Linked DNA regions of Homo sapiens: regions 2, 3, 4, 5, 6 and 7 are each linked to region 1. The links are contacts of gene promoters, found by promoter capture Hi-C in blood cells and fetal thymus (Javierre and others, 2016). All regions are on one chromosome and are shown on one strand. Each heading gives the region's core, a stretch centred on a gene start or on the middle of the fragment in contact. The rest is flanking DNA. Distances are from core to core; before and after follow the strand shown. Region 1 holds the start of HIPK2 (homeodomain interacting protein kinase 2). Region 2 overlaps TBXAS1 (thromboxane A synthase 1). Region 3 overlaps TBXAS1 (thromboxane A synthase 1). Region 4 overlaps TBXAS1 (thromboxane A synthase 1). Region 5 overlaps HIPK2 (homeodomain interacting protein kinase 2). Region 6 overlaps HIPK2 (homeodomain interacting protein kinase 2). Region 7 overlaps TBXAS1 (thromboxane A synthase 1).

Evidence for each region. The method cuts DNA at HindIII sites, captures the fragments that hold promoters and counts their contacts. A CHiCAGO score of 5 or more calls a contact.
Region 2: a contact is called between a fragment that was not itself captured here and the fragment with the promoter of HIPK2 in region 1, in 2 of 17 cell types (monocytes and M1 macrophages). The highest score is 6.0, in monocytes.
Region 3: a fragment that was not itself captured here is called in contact with the fragment with the promoter of HIPK2 in region 1 in 17 of 17 cell types (M1 macrophages, megakaryocytes, endothelial precursors and 14 more); the score reaches 33.1 in M1 macrophages.
Region 4: a contact is called between a fragment that was not itself captured here and the fragment with the promoter of HIPK2 in region 1, in 7 of 17 cell types (monocytes, M1 macrophages, endothelial precursors and 4 more). The highest score is 13.1, in monocytes.
Region 5: a contact is called between a fragment that was not itself captured here and the fragment with the promoter of HIPK2 in region 1, in 1 of 17 cell types (M2 macrophages). The highest score is 5.4, in M2 macrophages.
Region 6: a fragment that was not itself captured here is called in contact with the fragment with the promoter of HIPK2 in region 1 in 5 of 17 cell types (endothelial precursors, M2 macrophages, megakaryocytes and 2 more); the score reaches 8.8 in endothelial precursors.
Region 7: a contact is called between a fragment that was not itself captured here and the fragment with the promoter of HIPK2 in region 1, in 9 of 17 cell types (monocytes, M0 macrophages, M2 macrophages and 6 more). The highest score is 19.1, in monocytes.

The regions. Positions count from the first base shown.
Region 1 is chr7:139,776,748-139,780,896 of GRCh38, forward strand. It overlaps HIPK2 (homeodomain interacting protein kinase 2), which reads right to left and starts at 1,251. Exons shown (of 15, transcript NM_022740.5): 1 at 858-1,251. The coding sequence starts at 876. It also overlaps a transcript of TBXAS1 not described here. RefSeq lists silencers at 847-936, 1,367-1,596. The HindIII fragment of the contact is 7,054 bases long and covers 1-2,801 here.
Region 2 is chr7:140,018,354-140,022,502 of GRCh38, forward strand. It overlaps TBXAS1 (thromboxane A synthase 1), which reads left to right. Exons shown (of 13, transcript NM_001061.7): 13 at 1,672-1,940. The coding sequence ends at 1,746. Among named protein-coding and RNA genes, the nearest start is that of PARP12, 43 kb to the right of the region's middle. The HindIII fragment of the contact is 837 bases long and covers 1,367-2,203 here.
Region 3 is chr7:139,999,181-140,003,329 of GRCh38, forward strand. The region is part of intron 9 of TBXAS1 (thromboxane A synthase 1); the gene reads left to right. Among named protein-coding and RNA genes, the nearest start is that of PARP12, 62 kb to the right of the region's middle. RefSeq lists an enhancer at 3,443-3,502. The HindIII fragment of the contact is 413 bases long and covers 1,676-2,088 here.
Region 4 is chr7:139,957,771-139,961,919 of GRCh38, forward strand. TBXAS1 (thromboxane A synthase 1) reads left to right here. Exons shown (of 13, transcript NM_001061.7): 9 at 4,149. Among named protein-coding and RNA genes, the nearest start is that of PARP12, 100 kb to the right of the region's middle. The HindIII fragment of the contact is 2,222 bases long and covers 1,000-3,221 here.
Region 5 is chr7:139,591,650-139,595,798 of GRCh38, forward strand. All of the region lies in intron 12 of HIPK2 (homeodomain interacting protein kinase 2), which reads right to left. LOC105375530 (a long non-coding RNA gene) reads left to right here. Exons shown (of 4, transcript XR_001745383.2): 2 at 578-696. Among named protein-coding and RNA genes, the nearest start is that of CLEC2L, 70 kb to the left of the region's middle. The HindIII fragment of the contact is 7,922 bases long and covers 1-4,149 here.
Region 6 is chr7:139,607,694-139,611,842 of GRCh38, forward strand. The region is part of intron 9 of HIPK2 (homeodomain interacting protein kinase 2); the gene reads right to left. The region is part of intron 2 of LOC105375530 (a long non-coding RNA gene); the gene reads left to right. Among named protein-coding and RNA genes, the nearest start is that of CLEC2L, 86 kb to the left of the region's middle. The HindIII fragment of the contact is 1,148 bases long and covers 1,552-2,699 here.
Region 7 is chr7:139,936,508-139,940,656 of GRCh38, forward strand. The region is part of intron 5 of TBXAS1 (thromboxane A synthase 1); the gene reads left to right. It overlaps LOC105375532 (a long non-coding RNA gene), which reads left to right. Exons shown (of 2, transcript XR_928043.3): 1 at 1-4,149. Among named protein-coding and RNA genes, the nearest start is that of TBXAS1, 110 kb to the left of the region's middle. RefSeq lists an enhancer at 1,649-2,149. The HindIII fragment of the contact is 2,847 bases long and covers 750-3,596 here.

The DNA of each region.
Region 1 (4,149 bases), core at 1-2,500:
ACACATCGAAGTGTAAAAACTTAGTTGATTCTGGGTTGCTTTCTGGCTGGAAGCTGACAGAACGGACTGAAGAGAAACGAAAGACAGTGTGCGAGGCAGACCTACTGCTTTTCTGCCTTGCGTTCTTTTCTTTCTTGCTAAAGGCAGTCAAATGGGGAAAAATACCCCGATGCCAGGTGAAGGTGCACAACACAGATCGACCCAGACCGAGCCAGAAAAACGTCTCCGCCGCTCCCCCGGCTGGAAAACCCAAAGTCCACGTCCCCTTCCACACGCTAATGAGGGGAGATTTTCGCCTATTTCATTGTTCTGCCTGGCTCTGACATGGACTTTTCATCTCTCTCCTCTCTCCCCACCTAGCCCCGTGCATTCCGATTCCACAGCCCCCCCAAAATCGGAGGCTCGCGGAGAATAAAGGAGCGTGGGGTGGGCGCGGAAAGAAATGGGAAGGGGCGCGGGGCGGAGAGCGAAGTGGAAAGGAGGTGCTCCGAAAGGTAATGTGGGGGGGCGGTGGAAGCTAAGCCGCATCACCTTCATTTATCGCAAATAAATAAAAAGCACAGTCACCGGTCCGCCTTCCCCGGCGTCCCTGCCCTCCCCGGGCAGCCGCCCACCCTCGCACACGCCCCCTCCCCTCCTGCGCCCCCGGCCCCTCTCCCCGCCCTGGAAGCAAGACCCTGCCGGCGCCGGGTCCCGGTCATCTTCCGGGCGAGGGAGGGGGTCGCGGCCCCCTCGGGCCCCGGGTGGGGGCTGGGGCAGGCGCCGGGGGCTGCGGGCGCGGGGCCGCGGGCAGAACAAAGCTGCGGGGGCCGCGGAGGGCGGCGGGCGCGGGGTCGGCGGGGCCGGGCGCCCCTTACCTTCGTACACGGGGGCCATCGGGGCCGGGGTGTCCGCGGTTCATGGCAACGGGGACGGGAAAGCGGCGCGCGAGCTCGGCCCCCCCAGCCTCAGTCGGAATCTGCCATCTTGAGCCTGTGTCTCCGCTCTCGGCGCAGCCGAGGCCGCCCGCGCCCGCATCACCGCCTCCCGTGGCCGGCGCCGGGGGAGGGGGCCGGGCGCGCCGCCGCCGCCGCCGCCGCCGCTGCCGCCCGGGCCCGGCGCGGGGGGCTCGGGGCTCGGGGCTCGGGGCGGCCGGGCGGGCGGAGCGGCCGAGGCCGAGGCGCCGAGCGGCCGCGGCCCCCGAGCGGATCCGCGGAGGGGCGGGAGCCGGGGGCAGCGCGCGGCCAGGGCCGGCGGGGCTCAGCTCAGCATGGCTGGGCGCGGGGGCTCCGCAAAAGTTGCTGGCGGAGGGGGGCGGCGGGCGGGGGCGGGGGCGGGGCGCGGGGCCGGGAGAGCCACAGGGAGTCCGCGCGCAATCGAGCGCCGATGGCACGGATGCGAGGCGGGGAAGGCCGAACCGAAGGGCAGAGCCGCGCCGGCGGCCCGAGGGGACCGCGCTGGGAGGGGCTGCCGCGCAGCGCGGGGGGACTGGGCGCAGGGCGGGCCCCGGGTAGTGGGTGAGAGGGCCGGCCTGGACCCGGCGGGCGCACGGCTCCGAGCCCAGCGCAGCCGAGCCGGTCTGCAGAGGGGCCCCCAGAACTTTGTGTGTGTGTGTGCACGCGCGCGCGTGTGTGCCCAGGTGCGAGGGTTCGCGCGTGTGCTGGCGGGGAGGGAACCGACCCGAAAGAGAGCCCCACGCTGGCAAAGTGGCTCGCCCATCTCACAGCCGGTTGGCGCTCGCGGAGGTAGGAGTGGAATGAATGAATGAAGGAGTGGGCGCGCGCCGTGCTCCGGAGGAGGGCGGGTGAGTGGAGGAGCTTCGGAAAGCCACACGAGGTCAGAGGCACCGAAGCCCTGCCGTGCACGCCGCGGAAATGCAGCCCCCGGGGTGGTCGCTGGGTTCCTGCCGGAGTCTGGCTTCCACGCCACCCTGATCTTCTCCTCCTCGCGTCTACACTGTCCCGAGGGCCGCCACTCCATCACTTGAATGGGAGCTCACAACTCTCTGGGTCCTCGCTTTTCTCAGCGCTCTCTCCTATCAGGGCTTCCGCTAAACACTCTCCAGACTCTCCCCAGCCGGGAGCCTCTCCAGGTTTGCTTCTCCAGCTGCCTCCCGGATGCTTGGATAGGATGCCCTGCCATCCCCTCCAACTTAGGAAGACTTGTTGAGTCTCCTCTTAGGCACTGTTTTTAAAACTGTGGGTCGTGACACAGTAATAGATCATAAAATAAATGCAGCGGAAGGCAACCAGCTTTCAAAAAGAACGAAATGGAATCCAATAGAAAATATTAGAGTCCATTGCCCTTAGTAAGGGCAACTATTGTTTCATAAACCTTTTGTTTCGATTATAGGTACTGGACAAGTGTACTGGACCATGATGTCAATTTTATTTCCGTCTGTGAATCGTGGGTTTAAAAAAGTTGAAAAGCTATCTGTGTAAAATAATGATCTCTAACACTGTATAACTTTCTTAAAAACAACCTCGTGATTTTCTCACTACTTCTTATCCTTTCCGGTCTCCATCCTCCGTTCCCATCCTTCAGTCCTTCCCAAAAAAGGCAAGCTCTTTCACACTTTTTTAGTGGTACATCACGACACCTTCCTCTGTGTGATCTTGTACTCTGCGGTCTTCCTTGCCCCCATAATCAATGCTACACTTCCTATCCCTTCTCTTAACCTAATGCCATTCACGTTTGCAGAATCCTAGACTACTGTTGCTAAAAGGACCTCAGAGGTCATCTGGGCCAGCCCTGCCCTTTTAGAGTTGAAGAAATGGAGTCCAGAGAAGTAAAATCTGTTGCCCAATGTCACACAGTATTGAAGCTTAGGAATAGGTCTCGTGGCTCCCACTCTAGTGTTTTTTGCTCCACACCGGTCATTTATCTCCTTCCCTTCTATCCTCCCTGCAATCTTTAACTTTAGTCTTGGCCCAGGTCATCCTAAATATTGCCATCTTCATAATACGTGGTTCTGGCCATGCCACGCTCCTGGCTAACATCCTCTAAGGACTCAACCTCTGCAGGTGGGGCTGAGTGCCTTGGCTTTTCATCAAGGCAGGCGAGTCCTGACTTAGCTTTCTAAGGACATGAGTTCAGCAAGTCACTGCTTCTCTAGCCAAACTGGTTTACTTGTAGCCCAGTGCCAGCTTCACCCATCTCTGTCACTGTGCCTTTGCCCAAGCGGTCACTTTCCCACCCACTTTCCCAGAGGGGTACCTTCTCCATCTTCTCTCTTTAAGCAGATTCTACCTGTGCCTGGCTCACCTCCTCCACAAAACAGCCCGAGATAGCGTGGGAGTAAGTCAGACCTAGGTTCAAATCCTAGCTCTTCCACTTAACTATGTGATCTTGGTCAAAATGCTTAACCTCTCTGAGCCTCAGTGTCTGTATTTTGATTATGAGAAGGAGAACAATAGTAATGTTCTCCTTTTGCATCTGTAAATCTCTATCATAGCCTTCACCACACAGGTATGTAACTCCCTGTTAATACATACCCTACATGCATGTCTCTCTGCCCCTTTCTAGTGCTGGCCATTAGAACTTGCTGCCATAATGGCAGTGTAGCTACTTATGTCTGTGGAGCACATGAAATGTGGCTAGTATGACTGAGGAACTGAATTTTTAATTTTAATAACCATGGGTGGTTAGTGGCTACCATTTTGGACAAGGTGTCTCTAGACTGTAAGCTCAGTAAGGACAGAAACCATGTTTTTCTTGTTTTGGATTGTATGTCCAATAACTGCATTGCCTAACGCATGGTGAGTACTGCACACATATTTGTTGAATGGATGATAGCTGCAATTTGTTGCATGCTCCCTTGTGTCCAGCACAACACTACAAACTCGATAAAAGGCATTTCATATAGTCCTCATCACAGCCTCTGAGGCTGGGTTAGATTAGAGAGAGAGTTTTATATAGAGGGCAGACACATAGTAGGGGTTCAATAAAAGTTATTATTATTCTAACTCCTCCCTCTGACCAGCCCCACTGACTTTTGTCTCATCTTTCCTTAGGCTCACAGAACATTTCCTGCCTGTTGCTCACACTCTGTTGTCCACAGCATACCCGCACCCTAGATGGCTGACTCTTGTCTTCTGTGTAGGTACCCTGTGTTCATAACTGGATTGGCAGCGTCTTGGAGCAAGGCCCTGCTTTATAGGACTGCCCCTG
Region 2 (4,149 bases), core at 535-3,034, 240 kb after region 1:
CCCAGCTTTGCCTTCCCCCCTTGTGCAGACACTCACGTGTCCCCATGGCCACAGCCTGGTCCCTCTCACAGGTGGTGACACAGCCTCTTCCCAACAACATATGCCTTCATTCCTGAGGTCCTAGACTGGTGCACAGACCCTGTCCTCACCCAGAGAGCTGAGCTCTCCTGAAATGGGGCCTCACCCACTTTTCCAGCCCTATCTCCCCCCCACATCACACACTCCAGAACCAGCAGACCAATTCCTCAACAGGTCAGGGAGCTTATATCCCCTGCTTTCACACTCACAGCAACCCTGCAGAGTAGGAGTGACTATTCCCATTCTTTAGATGAGGAATCAAAGCTCAGAGAGGTTAAATAACTTGCCTAAGGCCACACAGCAGGACTGCAGGCTTCGTGATGGCAGGGACCCAGTCTGTCATATTCATTGTTGGACTTTCCAGCATCTAGCTTAATGCCAGGCGCATGACAGGTGCTCACTCATTCATTCAACAAACATTAATGAGCAAATGGATAAGCAGCCAGAGATGAGAGAAACGGGGGTCCTCACCCAGATCCTGCCCACTCCCAAGCTCTCCCTCCTTCCTGACATCTGGCTACGTCTCTGCACAGCGTTAGCTATTCCCTGCCTATCCTGACCACTGCTGTCCCCTGCACCTATCCTCATGCTTGTCCTGCCACCCGGAACCCACTGTTCAGCTGCAGACCTGGACAGGCAGGCATAGGAAGGCATAAGGACACAGTTGACAGATAGCAACAATTCTAGATTGAGACAGGCAGTGCCTCTGACAGAGAACCTGGGACCAGCTGCTGGTCCTGGAGGAATAATGAGCTTGGATGGGGGACATAGAGTCTGAGATACTGAAAGTGAACGCATCCACATACTCTGGGCTGGAGACAGGGAGGGGCAGATCGGCAGAGCAGAGCCAAACCAAGTGAGGTCAAGGGGCAGACGGAGGAGCAGCCCCACTGCATCGGGGCTTCCACGTGTGCGGGGCTTGTCTCACTTCCCCACGATCTCAACATACAGTGCAGCAGCCAGACCAGTCTCCCAAAACGCTGCTTATGCCTGGCACTCCCCGGCTTAAGAACCAGCCAGGAGTCAAGGGCTCCCCGTTCTTCCTTGTCTGCTCAGACAAGTGCTGGGGCCTGCAGCTTTTTCAGATGCCTTTGAGGGCTATGGCTCCCACAGGAGACACGTACAGCCCCAAGCACTAAGACCCTGGTGACTCTTTGCTGTCACATTAGCCACTGGCTCATCATTTTACTCAGCTCCAGAGGAAACCCAACTCCTCGAGTAATTCTTTGGTTTTTCTTCAAAGTCCCCAGTCCACCACTGGCTCTGCCTTTTAAGCTGGACATAGGAAAGCTTTCTGGATGTCAGTGAGGCCAGACCACAGCACACATGAGCAGGAACAGCATGAAGCTGCTTTCCCCAGAGCCCCTGGGCCAGAGGGCATTGCTCAGTTACTGGCCAGAACTGGAGAGTGAGATGGGGAGGATCAGCAGGGACGGCTGGAGTCACTGAAAGATAGGTTTGGGGCTTTGCTCTCTGCTTTCTTCTTGTGTGACCTTGGACAACGGACTTGGCCTTCTTGAACCTCCAAGTCTTCATTTGTACAGTGAGATGCTACTATCTCTTTGACAAATATTTTAATTTTCTCTATTTTAGGTACCGCTGCAGCTAGAATCCAAATCTGCCCTAGGTCCAAAAAATGGTGTCTATATCAAGATCGTATCCCGCTGACACAGAAGGCTGCCGGGTGGGGGGAGGGCACCCCCAAATTCAAAGAAAACCCTAAGTGTGGATGTTCAGAATTTTGGAAAAATGTCACTGAAGTGATTGAAAGAGTGCCTGGCATGCAAGGATAAGAGGTTCTTTACATAACATTTCCTAAATGCTTAATAAACGTTTGTTGCACTTGGTTTTGACATTGCCAATGGGGTTTGAACCAGTGCTCTCTCTAAATGAAGAATTGCTGATAAATAAGTGAAAATGTAGTTTTGACAAAACAACTGAGAATGTGGGGTTTTAAAGGAAGTCCCAGGCTTGTGCTGAAAGGAATCCATGGTGCAGGGCACATGAGGACCCCCAGGTAAGCCTGTCCTGATGGCACTAGCTCGTGGCTCTTTCAGCTTCTCGTGCATTGTGGAGTTGTAGAGAATGACATTTATCGAAAGTTCAACCTCAGCAGTGGTTCCAAAGCTTTATTATGCTTTGATTTTCCTAGGTAGGGTAGTACCAACTTTACAGTCAAGTTTCAATCGACAGAAAAATGAGAGTCTGAAAAATGATATACTTTTTCTTTTAAAGAACACTGTATCGGCCGGGCACGGTGGCTCACACCTGTAATCCCAGCACTTTGGGAGGCTGAGGCAGGTGGATTGCCTGAGGTCAGGAGTTCAAGACCAGTCTGGCCAACATGGTGAAACCCCATATCTATTAAAAATACAAAAAAATTAGCCAGGCTGTGGTGGCGGGCACCTGCAATCCCAGGTACTTGGGAGGCTGAGGCAGGGGAATTGCTTGAACCAGCGAGGTGGAGGTTGCAGTGAGCCAAGATCGCGCCACTGCACGCCAGCCTGGGTGACAGAGTGAGACTCCATCTCAAAAAAAACAAAAACAAAACAAAAAACACTGTATATTAATTTTGATCAAAGAATCAAAATATAGAGGTGATTTTTTTTGTAAAAATAAGTATTGTGTTGCTAAGCAGTTCACATTCAACCAAGCACTTGCAAGGTCAGTCTCACGATCAGCCACCAGCAGCTGCGCATTCATGGCTGCTGGTGAAGAGCCGTATCACCTCCCTGTGCCTCAGAGACCTCTTCTGTAAAATAAGGAGGCTGGCCTCGATCAAAAGACCACTTGTCCTCTAGTTGACACCTGAGCAGCTTTAAGAGGTTGAATGTTGTATAGAGAACGATCTTGTAGAAATCTGTAAGCCCCTTATGTGACACCCAGATGCTGACGACCCACCTTTAGAAACTTCAGGCCATTTTGGGAGAGTTGGCAGAATGAGTTTCCACATATTCACTGCTGGGACTGCTGCTTCCACTGTTTGGTGGTCCCCCATCCCCTTCAGCCAGGAGCACCCACTGTATCCCTCAAAATCCCCCTTGGGGGGCCCCTTCTCTTATTCTCTGGCCCTCCAGGCAGGAAGAGGACACCCCAGCTGCCCAGCACTGGGCCAGGCCTGTGAGTGACTGCTGCCTCAAGGTGTAGGGCTGTCCTGTGGCCCTCCCCACACCCTTGTTGCCACCACCTGCCCTTCTCCATCACCTGGCCCCTCTGCAATGCCCAGCCTGGGACTCAGACTCACTGGAGAAAACCATCCACCCCTGGGAACCTGTCGGCCTCCCTGCCTGTCCCACAATCCCTGACCTCCCCACGGCTGCCGCCACCATAGAACCTCAGCCTGCAGACAGGCCCAATGGCGCACTCAGCTCCCTGCTTGGAGCACAGCCCCACAACCTGAGTCCTCCCTTGGGACCTCCGGCCCCGCCCCCCGGCCTGTCAGCTCCATCCAGCTTCCCTCGCCTTCCCAGCTCAGTTGGTCACCACCTTCAGACACAGTGGTAGAGGCTTCCTCATGTGCTGGGGTCACTGGACTCCAGTCCTTCTACTGTGTGAGGCCACCAACCCCACCTCTGCTTAAATCCCACTGTTCACATCCAACACCAGGTATCACAGGGCAGGGAACCGCACCGCCTGGTCCTCCAAAAAACCCTCTTGCTAGATTCCCAACTGAGTCCTCACAAAGATTCTGGCCAATCCCACACACATACACCCATGTCCCAGACCCTACCACCTCTTGGCACCAAACATCTTGAGAGTCACAGTCATTTCCACCCCTTCCCATCACAATGCCCACCCTTTCTGCACCGGCAGGAACGGCTCCCTCCCCGTCATCAAGCAATCTGGCCATGTGGCTCCCACCCTCCCTAGCATTGCTGGTCCAAGGAGTTGCTCTTCCTAACCTGCTTTCTTCCAGGTCACCCAGCCATGGCTGCCAGAGTCTTCACAGCTCAGTGGACTTTTCCGGAGCAACTGAGCATCTCCCACCGGATCCCTCTGGCCGCCCTCCCCATCTACACCCCCAGTGAACCAGTTCTGCTCCCCAAATCTCCCCAGCTCCCAGATGATTCA
Region 3 (4,149 bases), core at 632-3,131, 220 kb after region 1:
TGAAATGTCAGAGCTCAGAGAACCTCAGCTCCCTCCCAACCTTGCCATAAGAACTCAGGGCTGGCCGGGCGCCATGGCTTACGCCTATAATCCCAGCACTTTGGGAGGCCGAGGTGGGTGAATCACCTGAGGTCAGGAGTTCAAGACCAGCCTGGCCAACATGGTAAAACCCCGTCTCTATAAAAATACAATAACTACGTGGGCATGGTGGTGAGCGCCTGTAATTCCAGCTACTTGGGAGGCTGACGCATGAGACTCGCTTGAACCCGGGAGGTGGAGGTTGCAGTGAGCCGAGATTGTACCATTGCACTCCAGCCTGGGGGATAGAGCAAGACTCTGTCTCCAAAAAACCAGTTGCAAGGGTGAGGGGCTTTGCCTCTGGTTTATGGTCAGAAGGGCAAAGCGAAGGTCACCCCATTTTCCACGGCTTGGTTTCATATTATAGTCCCACGGTCCCTGGAGAATCAGAGTGAATGGAAATCTTTATTCTTCATATGGCTGTATTGCCCCAAGCTGTCCTCGTGCTTAAGGGATTTCCAGCTCCGGCTTCTAGAGGGCAAGGGCCAGCATCACTTGGCCTACTTCTTAGTATAAGACCAAGTCTAGTGACAGCTGGGTAGGCATAACTACTACAGATGCTGCTGTTCCTACTGCTCTGAAGAAGAAAACTGAAGCCACCTCTGCTTCTATTTCCTTTAACAACATAGAAAAATGATAATTTTTCTATTAGGTCCGTGAATCTCCAGGAAAAATCTTTGTGAAAGCAATGACATTTTTATTTTCTTTTTCTCATTTATACTCCAGATGACATCTGCACACACACCCAGTGTGTGGCGTATGTGTAGGTGTGTGACTGTGTGTGTGTGTCTAGCTTTCAGAGAAAATGATACACAAAATGATAAATATAGAAAAGAGATTAATAGGAGAGGGCAGTACTGTTATTTCCTACATAAAAGGATTTATCGATAGATTGCCCATAGAGTTAGTTCCCTAAACCATCAGGTTAATCTATTGTATTTAAATGTATTTAAATATTGGGCCAGGCAGAGTGGCTCATGCCTGTGATCCCAGTACTTTAGGAGGCTGAGACTGGAGGATCACTGGAGTCCAGGAGTTCAACACAAGCCTGGGCAACATAGTGAGATGTCCCCGCATCTCTACAAACAAACAAAAAACAATTAGACAGGCATGGTGGCTTGCACCTGTAGTCCCAGTTACTCTGGCGGCTGAGGCAGGAGGATCGCTTGAGCCCAGGAGTTCAAGGCTGCAGTGAGCTATGACAGCACCACTGCACTGTAGCCTGGGCCACAGAGCAAGAAAATAAACAAACACATATTGGTTTCTAGATCCTAAACTATATGATGGAAAGACTAAGAGACCAAGAATCTTAGGAATAAAATTAGAAGTTACTGCCCATTGAAAATCAACTACATATGAAAAAGTCTCCCCCAAAATGAAGAAACTCTGGTTTGAGAATGTAAATCACTAGGTAAAGATTCTGTTTATTTTATTTCCATGTTTCCCAATATTTAATTTTCAACCCTCTAAGAGCAGTTATTTTATAAAATAAGTCCCAGCTGAAATGAATTTGATAGGATTTTAGAATTTCTTTCTCCCTTAACACATCCTATTAGCCTAGTTCAATAGAGAGAGCAGAGCGCCTCATGTTGAAATAAGCTTTCCCGCCACTGAATGTGTTCAAACAGAAATATCACCTGCTTAGGAGGTACTTTCCAGTTGCCAAAGACTTCCACCTTCATCTTCTTGTTCACTCTACTCTGCAAGATGGGTGGGACAGCATTACAGACGAGGGGTCCTGTAGATACTGTCCTGACGACTGGCCCAAGGCCATGGCTAAGGGTTACAGACCCGGAACAGAACCCTGCCCTTTGCCTCCCTTGTGGGACCCAAAGCCAGGCCAAGGTCAAGGGGAGGCGCTGCAGGGGGGGCTTCCTCATTGGGTGTGGACAGCAAAGGTTGATTTTGAGATTTCCCCCCAGCTCTAATTCTCAGTAATTTGGCCTTTGAAACAGGAGGCAGAGAGAACCCTGGGGGATGGCTTTTCATGTTATCTTTTGGAAACATAGAAGCTTCAGGTGCTTCCTGGCTTGAAATAAGAGAATATTCTGCTCAGTCCCCCACATTTTTGAGACACTCCAGGCCCAGCAGACCCACAGCACCCTCACTAGCTGTTGGTAACGTTGGTGCCTGGATGTACTGACAGAGGACCAGGTGTGCCAAGGGCCTGTCACCCAGGCTGTAGTGCAGTGGCACTATCTCGGCTCACCGCAACCTCTACCTCCCAGGCTCGAGCAATTTTCCTGCCTCAGCCTCCCAAGTAGCTGGGATTACAGGCGCCCACCACCATACCTGGCTATTTTTCTATTTTGAGTAGAGATGGGATTTCACCATGTTGCCCAGGTTGGTCTCGAACTCCTGGCCTCAAGTGACACCCCCTGCCTTGGCCTCCCAAAGTGCTGAGATTATGGGCGTGAGCCACCGTGACTGGCCGATAAGAATTCTTTTCTAAACATGACCACAATACCATTATCAACTAAAACCAAAATGAATGTTCATTCCTTGAGAGCATCAAATATCCTGTTGGATTCACAGTTCCCTGATTGATTCATATTTGTTTTAGGTTGGTTGCAGCAGCCTCTGAACAAGGCCATCCACTTTTCACTGGCTTATTCTCACTCATCCTAAAAATCTCAGCCTGGACATTGTCGCTTCCTCCTCACAGAGTCCCTGATCCCAAATGTGGGAGATGTGTGTCTCTCATCTGTTCTCCCATCTCACCCTTATCCACTTGTTTGCATCCTGATAGACTGGAAGCTCCGAGAGGCTAGGACATGTCCGTGCATTTTAAAGTTACGTCTCCCGGGCCTAGCACAGTGCCTGGTGAATCATGCTCGCCAATTCCATATGTATTCCTTGAATATGTAAATGAAGGATCTCCTAAACAGAACTGGTTTTGCATTCCTCGTAAGCACATTCGATAACACTTTACACATCCATGTCATGATTTGTTTAGGAATCGGTTTCCTCAATGGACAGAGCCTCCTTGGACCCCCAGCACCTGGTCCCGCACCTGACCCATCCAAGGTGCCCGCTGAGGAACTGCTGAATGAAAGAGGACTTATAATAAATTCTATGTTGAGACTTTGGGTTCACAGGCCTTCCTCTCTGGGCCTCATTTTTCTCCTCTCTGTCAAGGAAGGATGGCTGGGAGGATTTCCAAGGTCCTTTCCCGGGACGGGGAGTCCTCATTTAGCATGCGCTTGTTGCCCTCTGCTGGCAGAATTTGCTCAGGACCGTTCTGTCCCTGCTATTCCTGAAAGCTGCAGACAAAGCCAGCAACTGCTGGGTGGACCAGCCAGTGAGTGGGATAGGGACTTGAGTTTTGTTGTCTCGCTGGTTCGACTAAGACATGGAGGTGTGTGCGTCCTTCTGCCTCATCCGTTCATTCCTCAGGTGTGGAGAAGCGCTAGGGTAGGTCTCAGACAGACAGTCGGAAAGACCTATGCCCCTGAGTGCACATTAGGACAGCCAGGGGGCTAAAAAGGGAGAGCTGGTGCCCAGGCCCCACCTCAGACCAACACTGGGGAGTAGGGCCCAAGCATCCATCTATACTAAAACATATAAAAATCTGGCTGTTTCTGGCTGGGCGCGGTGGCTCACACCTGTAATCCCAGCACTTTGGGAGGCCGAGGCAGGCGGATTGCCTGAGGTCAGGAGTTCGAGACCAGCCTGACCAACACGGTGAAACCTCATCTCTACTGAAAATACAAAAATTAGCCGGGCGTGGTGGTGGGTGCCTGTAATCCCAGCTACTCGGGAGGCTGAGGCAGAAGAATTGCTTGAACCCAGGAGGCAGAGGTTGCAGTGAGCCGAGACCGGGCCATTGTACTCCAGCCTGGGCAACAAGAGCGAAACTCCGTCTCAAAAAAAAAAAAAAAAAAGCTGGCTGTTTCTAACATGCAGCCACATGGAGAACTGCTGAACCAAGATGGTCTTTACATACGTATCTTTTTGTTTGTTTGTCTGTTTGTTTGAGATGGAGTTTTGCTCTTGATGCCTAGGCTGTGATCTCAGCTCACTGCAACCTCCACCTCCCGGTTCAAGCGATTCTCCTGCCTCAGCCTCCAG
Region 4 (4,149 bases), core at 861-3,360, 180 kb after region 1:
TATTTTAATAGGACACAGCCTTGAAATGGAATGGAGCCGACTTTGGCATCACTGTCTCTGCTCTTTCTCTTCCCTCTCAGCCCCGCACATCACACCGTGCCGTCCTTCAGCAACCCACCACTTACAGCTTCCAGGGACAGTGGAGAGAACAGAGGAAGGTTGAGGAAGGTCAGACAAGAAAGGGAGGGTGGGACGGCAGAGAGAAGCCTACAGCAATGTGTACATCCTCGGACACGGACGGGTAGAATTAAAGCCGCCCCCAAAACTGTCTCCCTAGTGCAAGCATCAACCCAAGCACAGGTTAGAATAGCCCAGAAGAATTTTCTGGGTAAGTGTGCCCACATGCAATTTTCATGAGCATATTCTTTATATTGAAAACCCAGCAAGATGGAGTTCTCCAGCATGAACAGCATGCTTATTAGAGAGTTCGGCAACTGTCAGTCACTAACCCCACACTCCCACTCAGCATGGAGGATGTCGCTACAGAACTCGTGGTTGAGGGCCCCCTGGACTCCTTGGCACGATTCATATGAGACGTAGCATTTTCTTTCCTCCTTGCAGATTTGCACTATGCTTGGCACATAGTAGGAATCAAGTAAATATTTGTTGATTGAACTTGGCTAAAATAGAAAGAGGAGTTTTCAGTGGGAAGAAAGGTCATTTCAATACTGGATATGCATATGCATATGTAAATCTGGGCTTTAAAGCCCTTGTCACATTAAAGAAAGTTACTAAAAAGGAAAACAGGGCTGAAATGGCCTTTCCTTAGCTGGCTCGTGCAAGATGCAACTTTAAAAGGGTTGTCTCAAAGACTGGATGGCTCAGAGGAATTGGTGAGGGCCAATTGTTAAGGCACTGGCCTGAAATGAAATCAGGGGTCAATTAGTGGCTTGATACACCGAGCGGCCTTGGGCAGCAGCCGCGTCCTGTGCAGCTTCACGCCCGGAGAACTGTGCAGCAAACGTGTCTAGATCCAGAAGGCATGGGAAGGTGTAGGCAAGCTTGCAGCCCCCTCGGCCCACACCACTGTGAACTCAACTCGCATGTCCTTGGAGGTGCGGGAAGAAGCAGCTAACTGGCATCCCTGCCCCAGCTCTGAAGCCTAAAAGGACAGAACATTCTGATCCAGGTTCATGTTTCTCCGCAGAGTGAGGCTGGAGCCAGGGGGAGAAGGGATAAAGAAAGAACCATTTTCAACCCTCAACATTGCTACTAAGGGCCACCTTTTGAGAGTGTTCACACACACACACACACACACACACACACACGCATCCCTAGCCTGGCTGTGGAATCAGGCTAAAAATTTTAAAACTGTTGCATCGAATGACTTACTAAGAGGTGAGAGGTTATTAAAGATCCAATTACTGGGATTGCCTAGAGCTTTTCCTTTTATAAACTCTAGTGCTATTTGTTTCAAACAATGAGTTGATCTGAGAAAAATCTCCCAACCACAAATCCAGGACAGCCATGTCAAGACAGAGCTATACGGTTACTAAGAAAACTTGCTTTAAAACCATCTAAAGTCTGTATACATTCCATCAAGCAGATGTGTGTTTGCGCAGTGAAAATGCGGCACAGATGTTAAAAGGTAAATATTTTTCTAAGCTCTAGCCGATGGGTGGATTAGACACCTACATCTATCAGGGTGCGTATTTTCCTTGGATAGGACCATAAACCAGCACCGTTTCAGTCCTCAATGGGCAGTGTTCAGATAGCCTCCCTGATGCCATGTGAATAAAAGAAACCCATCTATACTAATGTTCTTCTCCAGTGCACGGGCCCTGGAGAGTGGCCTTTCCTCTGGCCTCTGTAGCTGGAGGTTAAGACAGATTTCTGCAAGATTCTGACAGCCCTTTAGCAGTCTGTCTGGGCTGGGATAAGAGGAAAGGATGCTGGCTGCAGTTTTGCCCATGGAAAAATACCCGGTGTAGAGGTGGCTGTGCCCTCCCTCCCATCATTACTCCTACACTACCTCAGCAAAGCCATAGCCAAGCCTCAGGGACCACAATGATATCACACCCTGAGGACCTTCAGAGGGACTGACTGAGAGGTCTGGGGGTGCTCTGGGGTCCTGTGCTGGTGTCCCAGAGCTGAGGGAGCAAGGGATGCTCACTTCCCCTGCGTGCCATCTTGCCTGACCCTGCCCCAGCTCTGCTCCATGGGAGCAGGGCCAGCAGTGGGACCACACCAGCGCCCATTGACCGAGCAGCAGGAAGGAAGCTGGGGAAAGCCAGCCCTTGAGGATGCTGTTTGAAAATCAGAACGAGCAGGGCCAGGGTGGAATGAAGCCACCAACTACCCCCGACCCTCACCATTTTCTCAGCTATTACAACCCAGCAGGCTGTTGGGAAGCTGAGGCCTTGCTTCCTTAGACTCAAGGTCTGTGGCACCCATAGTCTTAACCTTGAGCACTGCTAGGATCCCAGTAGGCACCTTCCAAAGTCACAAGGCTGGGGTGCAGTAGAGCTGCAAAGGTGTCAGCAGCCAAGACTCCCGCTCTAAAGAGCATTCACTTGTCATCAAACTCAGCATACCCATCCTCCAAATGCACGCACTGCATTACATTTTTATCTGTTGAGTCATGGACTGCAGATTTAACATGTGCTCAGCATAAAACTAGGCACGGTGTCAGGGGTTGAGGGTGGGGTCCTGCCCTGGAGTTGCTTATAATCTTATGGAGGAGGAAAAGCAACCACACATGAAATGACAACAATCTTAAAAGATGGAATCATCAGGAGGCTGAGGCGGGCGGATCACCTGAAGTCAGGAGTTCGAGACCAGCCTGACCAACATGGTGAAACCCCGCCTCTACTAAAGATACAAAAATTAGCCGGGTGTGGTGGCACATGCCTATAGTCCCAGCTACTCAGGAGGCTGAGGCAGGAAGATCACTTGAACCTGGGAGGTGGAGGTTGCAGTGAGCCAAGATCACACCATTGTACTCCAGCCTGGGTGACAGAGCAAAAAAAAAAAAAAAAGATGAAATCAGACGCTCATGTGTGTGGCATAGATTATTAATGCAATCGAAATTCAGAAGCCAGTGAACTGAGAAAATGCTGCAGCTAGCAGAGTACTTTGCATGAAATTCTAATATTTTTCTGTTGGTGATTCTGATACTCTCCTTTTGCCATTTTAGTCCCATAAACTTCAGAAAATGGAAATGTCTTGGTTGTCCTTCATGACATTAAAGAGCATTTCAAAGAAGGGATGTTCTAGGAATAAGCTTTGTTAACACAGAGGCGATATAGAAACACTCCTATTGTTACAATTAGTAATAGTGAAAATATAAAGAATATGCAAATGACTGATAAAGAAGGTAGGGGGAAATGGAAAAAAAGCTCTGACTACTTAAACGGGGGCAGGGGATTACTGAGAAATAGAGGGAACCGATGTGAAGATCTGATATGAAGGCTAGGGGATGAAGAAGGCAAAGCCTGGAGACTTTGAAGACAGGCGCCGCCAAACTAGTCCCCTCGCCTTGCCCTCACTTCTGTTAACTTCCTACTGTGTGAGAAAAACTGGTGGCTGCCCATCTAAGCCCTAAGCTGCACAGAAGTGAGCAGTACAGCACATGCTTGGTTTTAAATCTATCTATGTGATGTTGCCATTGTTTTATTGTTGGAAAACCAACCACCAACCAACAGTACAAAAATGTATAAAGTAAAAAATAAAAGCCCCCCTCCTGGTTTTCCCACCTCCTCCAGCTCATTATGAACTGTTGGGTGGGGACATTGCTAAAATCGTCTATGTGTAGACAGATATAGGTGATGATATATTTAGTACATTTGCTGTTTTTGCAGAAACGAGAGCCACAGTGCATACTGTTCCATGACCGGCTTTGTTTTTACTTAACAAAGTGGCTCAATGACTTTCACATCAGCCCAGATAGAATGGCCTCTGCCTTGCTCAGGGCAGCAGCCCAGGCTGCTCTTCACTGCCCCAGAACCTGCCTGACCAGTGCTATACTAAGGGACATTCAGGTGGCTTCCAGGTTCTCACCGTCCCAGATAACCCAGCAATGAGGAAGCTTGTTGCTACTGAGCTCTTCAAAAGCTATGCCCATGTATCTTCCTCCTTTGTTCTCCAGGAAGCCTCACTCTTCATGACTGTAAGGTCAAAATGTGCATTTTTCTCCTTTTGTTCCTTAGA
Region 5 (4,149 bases), core at 594-3,093, 180 kb before region 1:
GAGCCCTGTAAAGAGGGTGTGGCGAAGTCAGCTGGACAAAAGATCCTACCATCACCTCTTGAGATGAGTCACATGACTGAAATATTTTTCAACTGGGGATGTATTGTACTCAAAATGGAGAGACACCAAAGTTCCTTCAAATGGCACTGTGTGTCTGGGTTCCTTTGTTCCTTCACTCAAGCCTGATTCCCACGTCTCCATGAGCATGGCAGGAGGCTGGCTGTAGCAGCTTCTCAACCAATGGCAGGATGGAGCAAGCTACATGGTTATAGGTAGCAATGGAGGCTAATCCCACTTTGGGCTTTTTGCCCATGCAATAATAAATGAGTGTGTGTGGTTTTTGCTCCCTCTGTTAAGTGGATGTTAATTTTTCAGGCCAAAGTAATTTGAGCTGCAGTTTATCAGTTTTCTAACCTTGCTTTATCTATAATGATTTCTCTAGACTTTCAACTTAGTATAAACAAGGAAAACATTTCGGGTCAAATTTTTTTTATATATAAACATGTTAAGAGTGAGCTAAGTAACTGTTTTTATATCTAAAATACTGAATGATATTTATGAATCAATTTTCTTAAAGTTTTCATTTTTGGTAACGTCGGCTGAAACAGTGGCTGCTTACACAGGCACAGTGAAGTGCAGCCTGCAGGAGACACTTGATGACCTAAGCAGAACAACCCACCTACCAGAAATATCCAGGTAACTGAATGAGTGAATGCGTGAATGAATAATGGAGCTGGACAAAATCATTTCTATATGATCAGTTGATGTGAACCACTTTGGTTTACACACTTAAAAAATTACTCTCGGCCAGGCATGGAGGCTCACACCTGTAATCCCAGCACTTTGGGAGGCCAAGGCAGGAGAACTGCTTGAGCCTGGGAGTTCAAGACCAGCCTGGGCAACATAGTGAGACACTGTCTCTAGTTCTTACAAAAATAAAAAAAGAAATTACCCTCATGACTAAAGGTTGTATGCTACAGCCTTTACAAGACCATTTCAACACAAGGTAAAGATAGCAGGGGGGTCTGGATCAGGAGACGTGGATCAAGAGAGTCCAGGAGAGAAAAGATGGCTTGTTCAGTATGTGTAGACAATTAAATGCTTTTCTAATCGAAATTGTCTATAAATATTTAAAAGAAGACCAGTTCTACTACTTAATCCTGGGGGACCCAGAACAATATCTGTTTGTCTTATCTTTTGGCCAATTCTCTAGCCATGACCAGAGTCCCCTAGTCCAACAGTAATTCACTGAAAAGGAGTTCCCTGGCTCTTCCCTGCCCTTCTTACTTTAAAAAGAGCTGACTCCGCCCTTCTCAGTGCCATGGCTCCAGCACTCTGACAAACGCCCAGCACCAAGAGGGGGCTCAGTGGACAATACTCTAGACTCCCTATGGCCCTGGCATGGTGACCTGCACACAGTGGCATAGTGGTAGTCACAGGAGGGAGCAGGATAGAATCTGTATTCATTGAATGAATGACTGAAATCAGTTATTTTTGCCAGTTATTAAGTTTGACATTTCTTCAAGAGCATGGCACCTGAGTCCCAATTCTGCTATTTAGAACCTGTATCAATTTGGGTGAGTCACCTACCTTTCCTGAGCCTCAGTTTCTTCATCTATCAAATGGGAATAGAAATATCAGCCTTGCATGCCCCATCAAATGATGGAGGAGCTAGTGCGGGTGGAACACCCAGTGCATGTTTGCTATGATTCTCCTGTCTTTAGCTCAGTGTCTCCCAGCATCTGCCTCCAACATGCCCTGGAGTTCTTACGAGTGGAGCTGCTGGCCAGCCATCTGCTGTGCAACCAACAGTGCCACATACGTGGGGTCAGGAATAATGATTTTGCATTGGCTTTCTTTTAAAAATTCTAGGCTATATCATCTAGTCCTAGAGGTTTAGTGACACCCTCAATCAGGTCTAAAAGCCCCTTTGGTGGTGGAGGCACTGCCATCCCTCTGAAGGTCATCGGCTGCCTGACTCTGGCTGCCAAGCTGAGGCTGAGCCATGTTAGGGGAATTAACCAGCATTTTAGGCAAAGTTACAGGACTGGCACTGGGGTAAGTAGCAAATAGAAAACGAGGCTGGGAACACAGAAGGTGGGAATCAACATGCCCACAGCATGGAGAAATCAGGCTCGAGAACAAGGATGATCAATGTGTAGGAGGGAAGGTCTCCATCGCTCCAGCTGGGACACAGAAGGGCTGGGGAAGCTCTTCAGCTGGAGAGGGACCAGGTGACCCCTCCATGTGGCTGCACTTGGGGGTGCATCCTTGTTTTCCCAGGACTGATGCTTCCCCTTGAGCCCCTCAGTATCTCCTGACAAAGCTGACCACCCCCATGTAAGGGGAGATCCCTCCCCAACCCCCTTTCCATCCTGAAGCCCCTTTTGGATAAGCTCCTGCACAGGGGTCTTGATCCTGTTCGCTTGCCTTGGAGGCTCTGCCCCATCAATCACCTCACTTGAATTTGCAACCGCACCTCCTCTACTGTGTGGACCTGTCCAGACCTTTGGCCTTCAAAGCCCCCCTCCCCTGCTATTCCCTTAAGCTATTTTCCCTTTGAGTTCCCATGGTACTTTGCTCATTTTTATGGGACTGACACTGTGTTTTGTGTTATAATGATTTGTATGTGTTTCGTCTTGTTTATTACCCTGCAAACCTCATGAGGACACAAACTGTCTACCTTATTTATGTAACACCTGCAGTTCCCAGCATAATATCTTACACTAGTGGGGCCAATAAATACTGACTGTGTTAAATTTTATGATAATTCTGACTTCTAAGAACAAGTAATCATATTTCCCCACATTTTTTTTTTCTGATCCCAAAATGTAGTCACAATAATGTGATCACAGTTACACAGTGGTTTCTCTATAAATAAAACAGCTACTGGTTTCTGTTTTATCCTACTCAGACTCAAATACACTTTCCTACCTTCTTGAGTGCAAAGACATTTTCTAAGGCACTTGCCATTAGATCTCTCTAGAAAACATTATTCTGGGAGCTCCCAGTCACAACTGTGGACAGCTGAAGCCTTTTGGATGACTCCCTAGCCTCAGTCTGCAGCTTCCCTATTCAGCCTCATGTGTCCGGCACATTTTCACGACCCTGGCAGGCTGGCAGTCCCCGCCACTCTTCACTGCAGGATGCTGTGGGACTCAGTAGCCACTGCTACTGTCTGTCTGTGGCTGCCCCTCACCTGTGCACCTGGCTCTCTCTCCCAGGTTTCTTTGAGTTGTTCCCATGAAGGTCCTCATCTGCTGCCCAGCCTCTCGGTTCTATCATTTCTTTCTGGGGGCCTTAGGGGCTGCCGCAGAGGCACGGACATGCTCTGGCTTTGCGTTCCACTCTCAGCCCTGTCAGCTCTCTGACTGGTGGAGAGACGGCTCTCTCATCCTCCTTCTCAGACACGCTATTCAATTCTCTCCTGGGCACAGATGTTGAGAGTCTGTGTCAACTCAGATCTCATACGTTAGGAATGAGATTCCAATCTAGCTGATTGTCAGATTTTAAATTGCTTTTGCTTTTTTCCATTTGTGGCAAAGGGCCGGGCAAGGCTGCTGGACCCTTCTGATGACCAAGGCTACCCACGTGTGGGTGGCTGCTCAAGGCCAGGCTTCAGTCTGGGGCTGGGCAGGGCCGTCCCCTTTGTGAAGAGACTGCTGAGCCCACGTGAGGACTGAACCGACAGTATTCCTGGGTGGTGGTGTGGGGGCACTGCGGAGAATGGACCATTCACTCAACTTGAGGCTGTCATCAAAAAGGGACCTGAGGCCATTTCTGGACTAGGCAGATGGGGAGTAAAAGGCAGTCCTGGGCTGCCAAAGTATTCAGTGCTATGCCTGGACCTTTGACCTGGGTCCCCTCTGACACCTGGCACAATGCTACGGCCACAAGTGCTCCACTACATTCTTCTCTGAAATACAATGACAATTAGGCTGTACCTAATTGGTGGGAAGAGGACACTTGAATGAGACATGTACTAACCCCACCCAGAAACAAACTAAAACCACTGGACTTCATTATAAAGAGGGAAGGGAACGTCCTATGCAGGAATAGTTATAATGAGAATGTTTTCATCAGTCTATCTATACATTTTGTAATGATTTCAAATGTGAGAATTTATTATCTAATCAAAGGATTTGTGAT
Region 6 (4,149 bases), core at 876-3,375, 170 kb before region 1:
TAAATATTACAAAGTAGTTGAATCAAAATTATGTGGGAGGAATAGGAGAAAAGAGTGAGTGAAAGGAGGAACAGGAGAGAAATTGTGTGTGTTATGGGGATGGCAGTGGGTTAGAAAGCTAAATCTTCATCTTCCATAATAGGAAGTCAATGGATAATACCTAAAATGGAAAAAAAAATCCATAAAAAGCAGTCTAAGCATATTATTTAGAAACACAGAGTTAAAGAACAGATTAAACAGTTAAGTTAAAAATTATCGTTATGGCCAGGGCACAGTGGCTCACACCTGTAATCCCAGCACTTTGGGAGGCCAAGGCGGGTGGATCACTTGATGCCAGGAGTTTGAGACCAGCCTGGCCAACACATTGAAACCTAGTCTCTACTAAAAATACAAAAAAAAATTAGCCGGGGCGTGGTGGCACATGCCTGTAATCCCAGCTACTCGGGAGGCTGAGGCACGAGAATTGCTTGAACCCAGGAGGCGGAGGTTACAGTGAGCTGAGATTGCACCACTGCACTCCAGCCTGGTGGCAGAGCAAGGCTATGTCTCAAAAAAATACGTGTGTGTGTGTGTGTGTGTGTGTGTGTGTGTGTATAAATAAAAACTTTTAGGGATAATATATATTATATATATAAAATATATATATAACAGGGATAATATATATGTGTATATATATACATATATACATATATAATGTAACTATATATATTGTTATGGGGAGGAGACATTAAGGATGGGATAGAGCAGAGGACTATAATTTTCCTATAAGTTTATGGTATTAATTAACTTTTAAAAATTATGTACATGTATTACTTTGAAAAGGAATTAAATTTAAATTTCAAAAATAACTTCCCCAAAGCCATATAGCCAGTAAGTGGTGAGGCAGCCATCTGAATGTGGGCAACCTAATTCCAGTGCCCATGCTTTCAGCCAATATACACCTCTCCTTGTGTTGATAATACACAAAAATAATGGCCCCTATTCAGGATCAGGCATTGGTGGTAACTGCATAAAGGTGGCATGAACAAGTCTTCCTTATTCTCTAAGAATATCAGGTGCCAGTCAAGAGACAGGCAGACAGCAGGACAATGGTTGGAAAGACTGGTTGCTGAAAATGTTATCAGAGGAACTTTTGAGTGAGAAACATTAAAATTTTGTATTTCGAACAGTTTAAAGGGTTCAAGCCAACAGTTTGTTTTCAGGGAAACATTTAAAGGCTCAGTTGGTCAAATATGAGCCCAAGAAATAAAGTAAATAAGTAAAAAATAAAGAGGTTCAGGTGATATGATTTGATTGGCTAGAAGAACACAAAACACTTCATGGAAGGGTGGAGTCTACAGTGATTTCTCTAACCCTGCTAGTCAAAGGAGATTTTAGATCCTGACATTTGACAAGTCAGATAAATTCAATACTGTCTCAATCAAGAACTGTGCTTCCCATCTCTCCACTATTACCTACTCATTCACAATTTCTGTTGGTGGCCAAGATGCTAGCTGTGGCATGGGGCTTGGGAGGATGGAGTTGACAGCTCCTTTTAGGCAGTACCAAAAAAGCTTTTGTTGCAAGGTGATCCACAAAGATCACTCCCATATCACTAACATAAGCAGAATGATTACCATTTCCACCTGCCATGCACACATCCTCTGGGTGCCCCACAGAGGCCTGTTTCCCTGAAAGTTTTATGTGATGCTGCTGGGAGGTGGGGAGGAAAAGGGCAAAGAAAATGAAATTAACATGAGGAGTGGATTCAAAGACTCCATCTCTAAGTGTTCATAAGTAAAATCCTTTAAAAGATTTTCAGTATTTAGAGAAAAAGAACAATGTCAACTTTTTGAATACATTTATGTCAAATAATAGGATTTGGAATGCCTCTGCCTGGTGCCTAGAAATTTAACTGTAGAAAAACGAAGCCTTCAGTTTAAATGCTTAATTGTGCTTTTTTATAGCCACCATAAGAGTTTTATAAATTAACTTATTTTTGTCCTTTGAAGGGAATGTTTAAAAATATCTAGGAGAGAGCCCATCTCAACAGGCTAACATATTGGCATGGATTAAGTGACAAGCAGAGAGAAAAATAAAAAGCAACTGACAAAAAGACACAACACGATACTGGATAGGGCAGGATTTTTTTCACTTAATATATCTTAGAAATCTCTGCATGTCAAGACACAAAGGTCTACCATGTTCTTTTAATGGCTACATGGTGTTCCATTTTACGTGTGCATCAACTTATTTAACCAATCCCTTACTGACGAACATTCAAGTTTCTTCCAACAATCTCAGTTATAAACACAGTAGCAATTAAAATCCTTACACACGTATTTTTTGTTCACTTTCCTAATTACAGCTTTAGGTTAAATCTACTTGGAGATTTACAACACTCTAGGGACTCTCTTTCAAGGAAGCAAAAGGTAAAGTTCTCCCCTGCTACGATTAAAGGACTGAAACAAATTCTGACTGCTGAGTCTACTGGTTCCACCAAACTGAACAACGAAGAATCCCTATTTTGGCTAATAAGAAATGCTAATTATTATTTCTTTCAGAGATGGCTCCTGGCTTACTAGGGTTAAGTGTGCAAACATAAAAAAGATCTGTAATTATCCTTTAAAAGCACACGTGAGTTCTGTAGATTTGGGCTCACAAAGGCGGAGCACTGGGAGACTGGTGTGGATTTTTGCCACTCAGATAAAGTATGAAGAAGCTTTTTTGCCCCTGGACTGAGCTGTAGTTCTTTCTCTGATCTATCTTGGCCTTTTCTGAACTCCCCGCTACTGAACTATGCAAATAAAAGGAAGCTACAAGGACCCATTGGAGAGAGAGGAACGAAGAGAAGGCCTGTTTTAAATACAAAAAGTTCTCTGTTTACAAACTTTCAATAAGACAAAACTTTGTGTGCTACCAGTCACTGGTGTTAGTGGTCAACTGCACAGTGTCATTCTGGACCTAAGCACAGAGATGAAGAATACTTCATATCGATCTTAAACAAACTGTTCCGGAAAACAGAATAGATAATAATGTAACCACAGCAGTCTGGTTCAACTTTTATGTAACAAAGTTGTGAGTTGTTTTTCATTTGCCATGGATCCACAGGTTAAAGGTCACATAACCTGAGCATGCCCAGATGAACCAGGTATGTAACAACAGGCAGAACCTAAGTGCCTGGATTGAGGCGAGTGAATGGAATTTAGAAATGGATACCACATGGCAGGATCCAGGATCCAATCAGATCGAGCTGTGGCATCACTGCATGGCAGGATCCAGTCAGATCATGCCTCTGATATCAATTCGTTGCAAGATCCAATCAGATCATGCCTCATTACCCTATGCTTATAAAACCTGACCCAGCCCTTTGCTCAGAGACACTGCTTTGGGAACTATCTCCAGTGTTCTCCTTACTTGTTACAAGTAATACAATCCCCTTGCTAAATCCTTGTCTGTGGTCATTGGGTTGGTACCTGTCAAGTGACCAAACCCACTCGTGTGGGTAACAACAAGAAGAAGATATTTTATGAGCCTGGTGTAACCTTGTACTCAAATCAGATAAGGATTTTATAAAAAGGGAAATTATATGCCATTTTTCACCTATGAACATAGATATAAAAATACTAACTATAGTACTTACAAACTGAATCCAATATTAAAAAGCATATCATATCAAGCACATGAGCAAATGGAGTTTATATCATAAATAAAAGGGTAGTTTAATATTACAAAATATATTAATATAACTTGTCCCATTAGTAGATTAAGGAACAAAAAGCATATGAGTGTCTTAATAGATACAGAAAGAACATTTGATATAATTCAATATTCATTACAAAACTTAAACATGATAAAGTGTTTCTATTAATTTTTTTTTTTCTTTACAGACAGGGTCGTACCCTGTTGCCCACCCTGGAGTGCAATGATGTGATCATAGCTCACTGCAGCTTCAAACTCCTGGGCTCAAGTGATCCTTTTGCCTCAGCCTCCTGTGTATCTGGGACTGCAGGCATGTGCCACCATGCCCAGCTAATTTTTAATTTTTTTTTGTAGAGATGGGGTCTCACTATGTTGCCCAGGCTGGCCTTGAACTCCTGGGCTCAAGTGATCCTCTCATCTCAGCCTCCTGAGTAGCTGAGACTACAGGCCTGGGACTACAGGTGTGCA
Region 7 (4,149 bases), core at 923-3,422, 160 kb after region 1:
TATCCCCACTTGCCATAAATGAACTGTGAGTCAACAAGTACACAGGGCATTCGCCTGTGTCCAGAGACAGAGCTTGAGGTGCTTTGGGGGCCCCAGGAGACAACTGCAACAGTGTCTGTTGGACTGTCATGCATAATGGATCACCTAGGGATCTGGCTACAAAGCAGGCTCTGATTCAAGAGGGCCAGGGTGGCCTAAGAATCTGCATTTATAACACCCGGCCAGGTAATTTCGTTGTTACTGGACAATGAACCACACTTTACATAGCAAGAAACTAGAGAACAGCATGAAACAAAGGTGACCTACCAATCAAGTCTTAAATAGGGAGGTGATTGCAGTGAATGACTGGGGAGGAGTGGGCGATCATGTCAGGCAGGGACACCCAGGTTAACCTCTAGGCCAAGTTCAAGGGAAGGGCAGGCTCCACAGGATGCTACCAGCTCTCTAAGGCCCTGGACACTCTCCTTTCCCTACTGAGTGACTCACTCTTTCCTATCAGCTGTGCACCCAAAACCGGGTGTTTGTACAGCCTCCAGACCAATTTCTCACACAACAGATCCTGACTGCTGTGTTTTGTATCTAAGCCTGACAGCCCCCTCAATTGCTGGTCTGGCTTTGGTGTTTGCTGTTCTGAATTGTGCAACCACAAGGGAGAGAGAACTTGAGCCCTTATGATGTGAAGGGGCTAAGGGGCTTCTTTAGTTCCAGTCTCAGGTACACAGGCATCTCTAGAGCAAGGGAGCTTCCAAAGCTTGGCTTGAGTGCCCTGGGCTTCTGCCATCCACCCTGTCTGGATGTTCCAGAGTAGCCTGTCTTCAGTTCAATAAAAATGAAAGCTACTTTTAGCTTAAGCTCAAGATGCTCATCCATATGGTCCTGATTGAATTCCTATAAATCTTCTGAAGTCCCCCAGAAGAGGAGGGGGTTCCACACCTCATTATATCCAATTAAACTCACTCAGAAGCTAGTGATCCCCCCATTTTTATGAGGTTTTGATTTGCATTTCCATGGGTAGCTGTTGGTGTTTGGGGGCAGAGCCTGTCTCTGTATGCAGCACCTGCTCACACTCACACAGCTCAGAGTCAGGTACCAAGGGTTGCCTGTTTAGACTAACACACTGCCTCTTCACCACATTCCTGCGAGATAAATACCATCATCCTTATTATTACCATCCCATTTTACAGAGGAGGAAACTAGGCACGGAGAGATTAAGTAGCGTGCTCCAAGTCTCATAGCTAGTAAGCAGCAGAGCCAAAATCAGAATCCAGCTCCGGAGCGCTCTTCACCTCTCTGCCTGACTGCTTGCTACCTCCATGTGATTTTCCAGTGGTGCTCGGAGGCCACGTAGGACTGTGCCAGGGGCTGTCTGGAGGATGCAGGAAGGGGAAGTGTAGCAAATGGGGCCTCGGTGGAAAGCTGGGGGGTGGGGGAGGGTCAGAAGCAAAACTTCTCTATTTTCTGCCTAAGTTTGGAACCAACTGAGGTATGGAAAGAGGTTTTAGGCAAAGGAAATAAAATTTTCTCTTATCTTACTGGTAAAGCTGTTTGAAAAATAGAGTCCCCATCTGATCACATGGGCTTGCTATGCTAATACTTCACCCAGAATGGGACAATTGCAGGGGGGTGGCAGATGCCATCGGGGCTGGCCCGCGGCCCACATGTGCTCAATTCCTTCCTCCAAGACTGGGTCTGATACAGTGTAGACAGCAGGAGATGGAGAGTGACTTAGATGCAGCGGTTGGCCAGTGGGGCCCACCGGGATCACTTGGGGGGCTTTGAAAACTGTTGCTGCCTGGGTCCCACACCTAGAAATTCTCATTCGCTTGGTTTGCTTTGGGATGCAGCCTGGGTTTGAGGATATTTTTTTCAGGCTCCCCAGGTGATTGTCACGTAAAGCCAGTATTGGGAACCACCACCAGTAGAAGTTCCCCACAAGGACATGAGAGGAAAGGGGCACCTGCTTCCACTGCAACAATTAGCCCTGCTCACATTGATCTCTGTTATCTATTGAGGATTCACAGGAGAATGTGAAGGAAGGGCCTGCATCTTAAAGCTAGAAACCACTGCTCTAAACCATGTAGACTAGCTGCCTGGAGTGTGCCCCTTTATCACATCCAGCCACTAAAAGGTTGAGTCAGCCAAGAGAAGACCGGGGGAAGAGAGGAGAGGTAGGTGAGCCTAGGGCTGGCATCACTAGCGTATATGTCTGTATTCAAAAGCAATGGCTTCATGGCACTATAGAAGTAGAAAGAACCTCATGTGTGAAAAAGAAATTGGTAAAGAGTATCTGAGAAAAGAAGAAAAGAGAAAGAAGAAAAGGAAGCAAGGAAAGGAAAATAAGGTTTAGCAGTCCTGGGCTATGATTCTTTGATAAGGAATTTTATCATGGTCTAGATTCCTTTAACCCCTTACAGGGGATACTCCAGAAAGTGACACATTGTCGTTTCCCAAGCAAATCCAGTGCTCCTGGAGTCCAGTCTTCTCCCTCTAGTCCAGAAATCAAATGCATAGTGCCTGAATTAATTGCAGAAAATAGAGTTCCTCAATATGTCCACGGCATTAAGATGCCAAGAGAAGCCAGGCAAGGTGGCTCACGCCTGTAATCCCAGCACTTTGGGAGGCCGAAGCGGGTGGATCACCTGAGGTCAGGAGTTCAAGACCAGCTTGATCAACATGGTGAAACCCTGTCTCTACTAAGAATACAAAAAGTAGCCAGTGTGGTGGCAGGCACCTGTAACCCCAGCTACTCAGGACCCTGAGGCAGGAGAATCGCTTGAATCCAGGAGGCAGAGGTTGCAGTAAGCCAAGATCATACCACTGCACTCTAGCCTTGGTGACAGAGTAAGACTCCAGACTCCATCTCAAAAAAAAAAAAAAAAAAAAAAAAGCCAAGAGGTAGAGAGAGATTTCATAGAGCCCATTATTTACCATACACTATCAATAACCTTGAAATTCCCTTGAAAGGCATTTTTTTCTACTCCATATAGTTCAATTTAGGTTCTTGGGTTTGCGTTTGAAAGGATTCCATCCCAGAGGCAGGAGAAGTTAACTTTTTCCCCACCTCTGGGGATTTTAGACCTGGCGAGTTGAAGTTTACTGGAAGGCCCCTAAGGAGACCCTTCAAGAAGAAGTTGGCTGTGCAGATGGCACTCAGGTGGGAGGGGGAAGAAAGATGGTCTTCAAAACACAGAGACGTGTAGCATATGTGTTAGATATGGTTCTGGGGAGAACCATATTTAAGGGAGGAGCGGAGGAGAAACCTATAAAGAAGACTCAGGAAGAACAGCCTGAAATGGAAACCAGCAGAATGTGGAAGGGGAAAGCATTTCAAAGAGGAAGGAGCAGCCAGAGGTGTTAAATGCTGCTCACATGGAAAGAAACACGAGGACGAAAAAGTGCACAGCAAAGATAATATTTCTGAAACGTGAAACCAATGTATGTCTGTTTCATGCTCCATAGATCGTGTTCCCTGTAATTTTCCCGCACCCGCGGAATCAATGGCACCAGTGGGTGCTCCTGAAGGTGCCTCTGAGGAAGACAGTAGGTGCCATCCAGAACAAGGAAGTAGTTGCTTGATTTTGAACTGTACGTTAGCAAGCTTTATTAGGAGAGGAAAGAGTTTTCCTAATTCCAAAAGCAGCTCCCCTTTGCATATGAAGAGCAGAGGGTTTGAGGCTCTAAGCCATGGTGTAGACAGGATGCAGGAAATGACAGGGGGGCTGCTTCTGGGCTGTGGAAGATGGGTGGAGGGGACAAAATGAGAAGTGTCCTATATTCCTCCCCAAAACCTCCTGGTTTCTGGATGCTTCCTCAAACTTTAATCTCCCAGCTGCCTTTGTTCTCTAAGTCACTGGTTCTCAAACCTTGTGGGACCAAGGGCTGCATGAGAATCACCTAGGACCCTTGTTAAAAATACATAATTTCAGCCACCTCAAGATCTATATAGTCAGAATTTCTAAGGGTAACTGAGAATTCGCATGTCACGAGTTCCCTGGAAAGATTCTGCTGAGAGCCAGCGTGGAAAGCCCCGGCACAGTGAGTGTTCCTGTTGGTCCCCTCTCTGACCACCTCAGACCGACTACATCTCCAGGCTCGAAGGACCTGGCCCCTGAACCCCCACCCTCCACTGCTTTATTTTTCTCTGTGGAA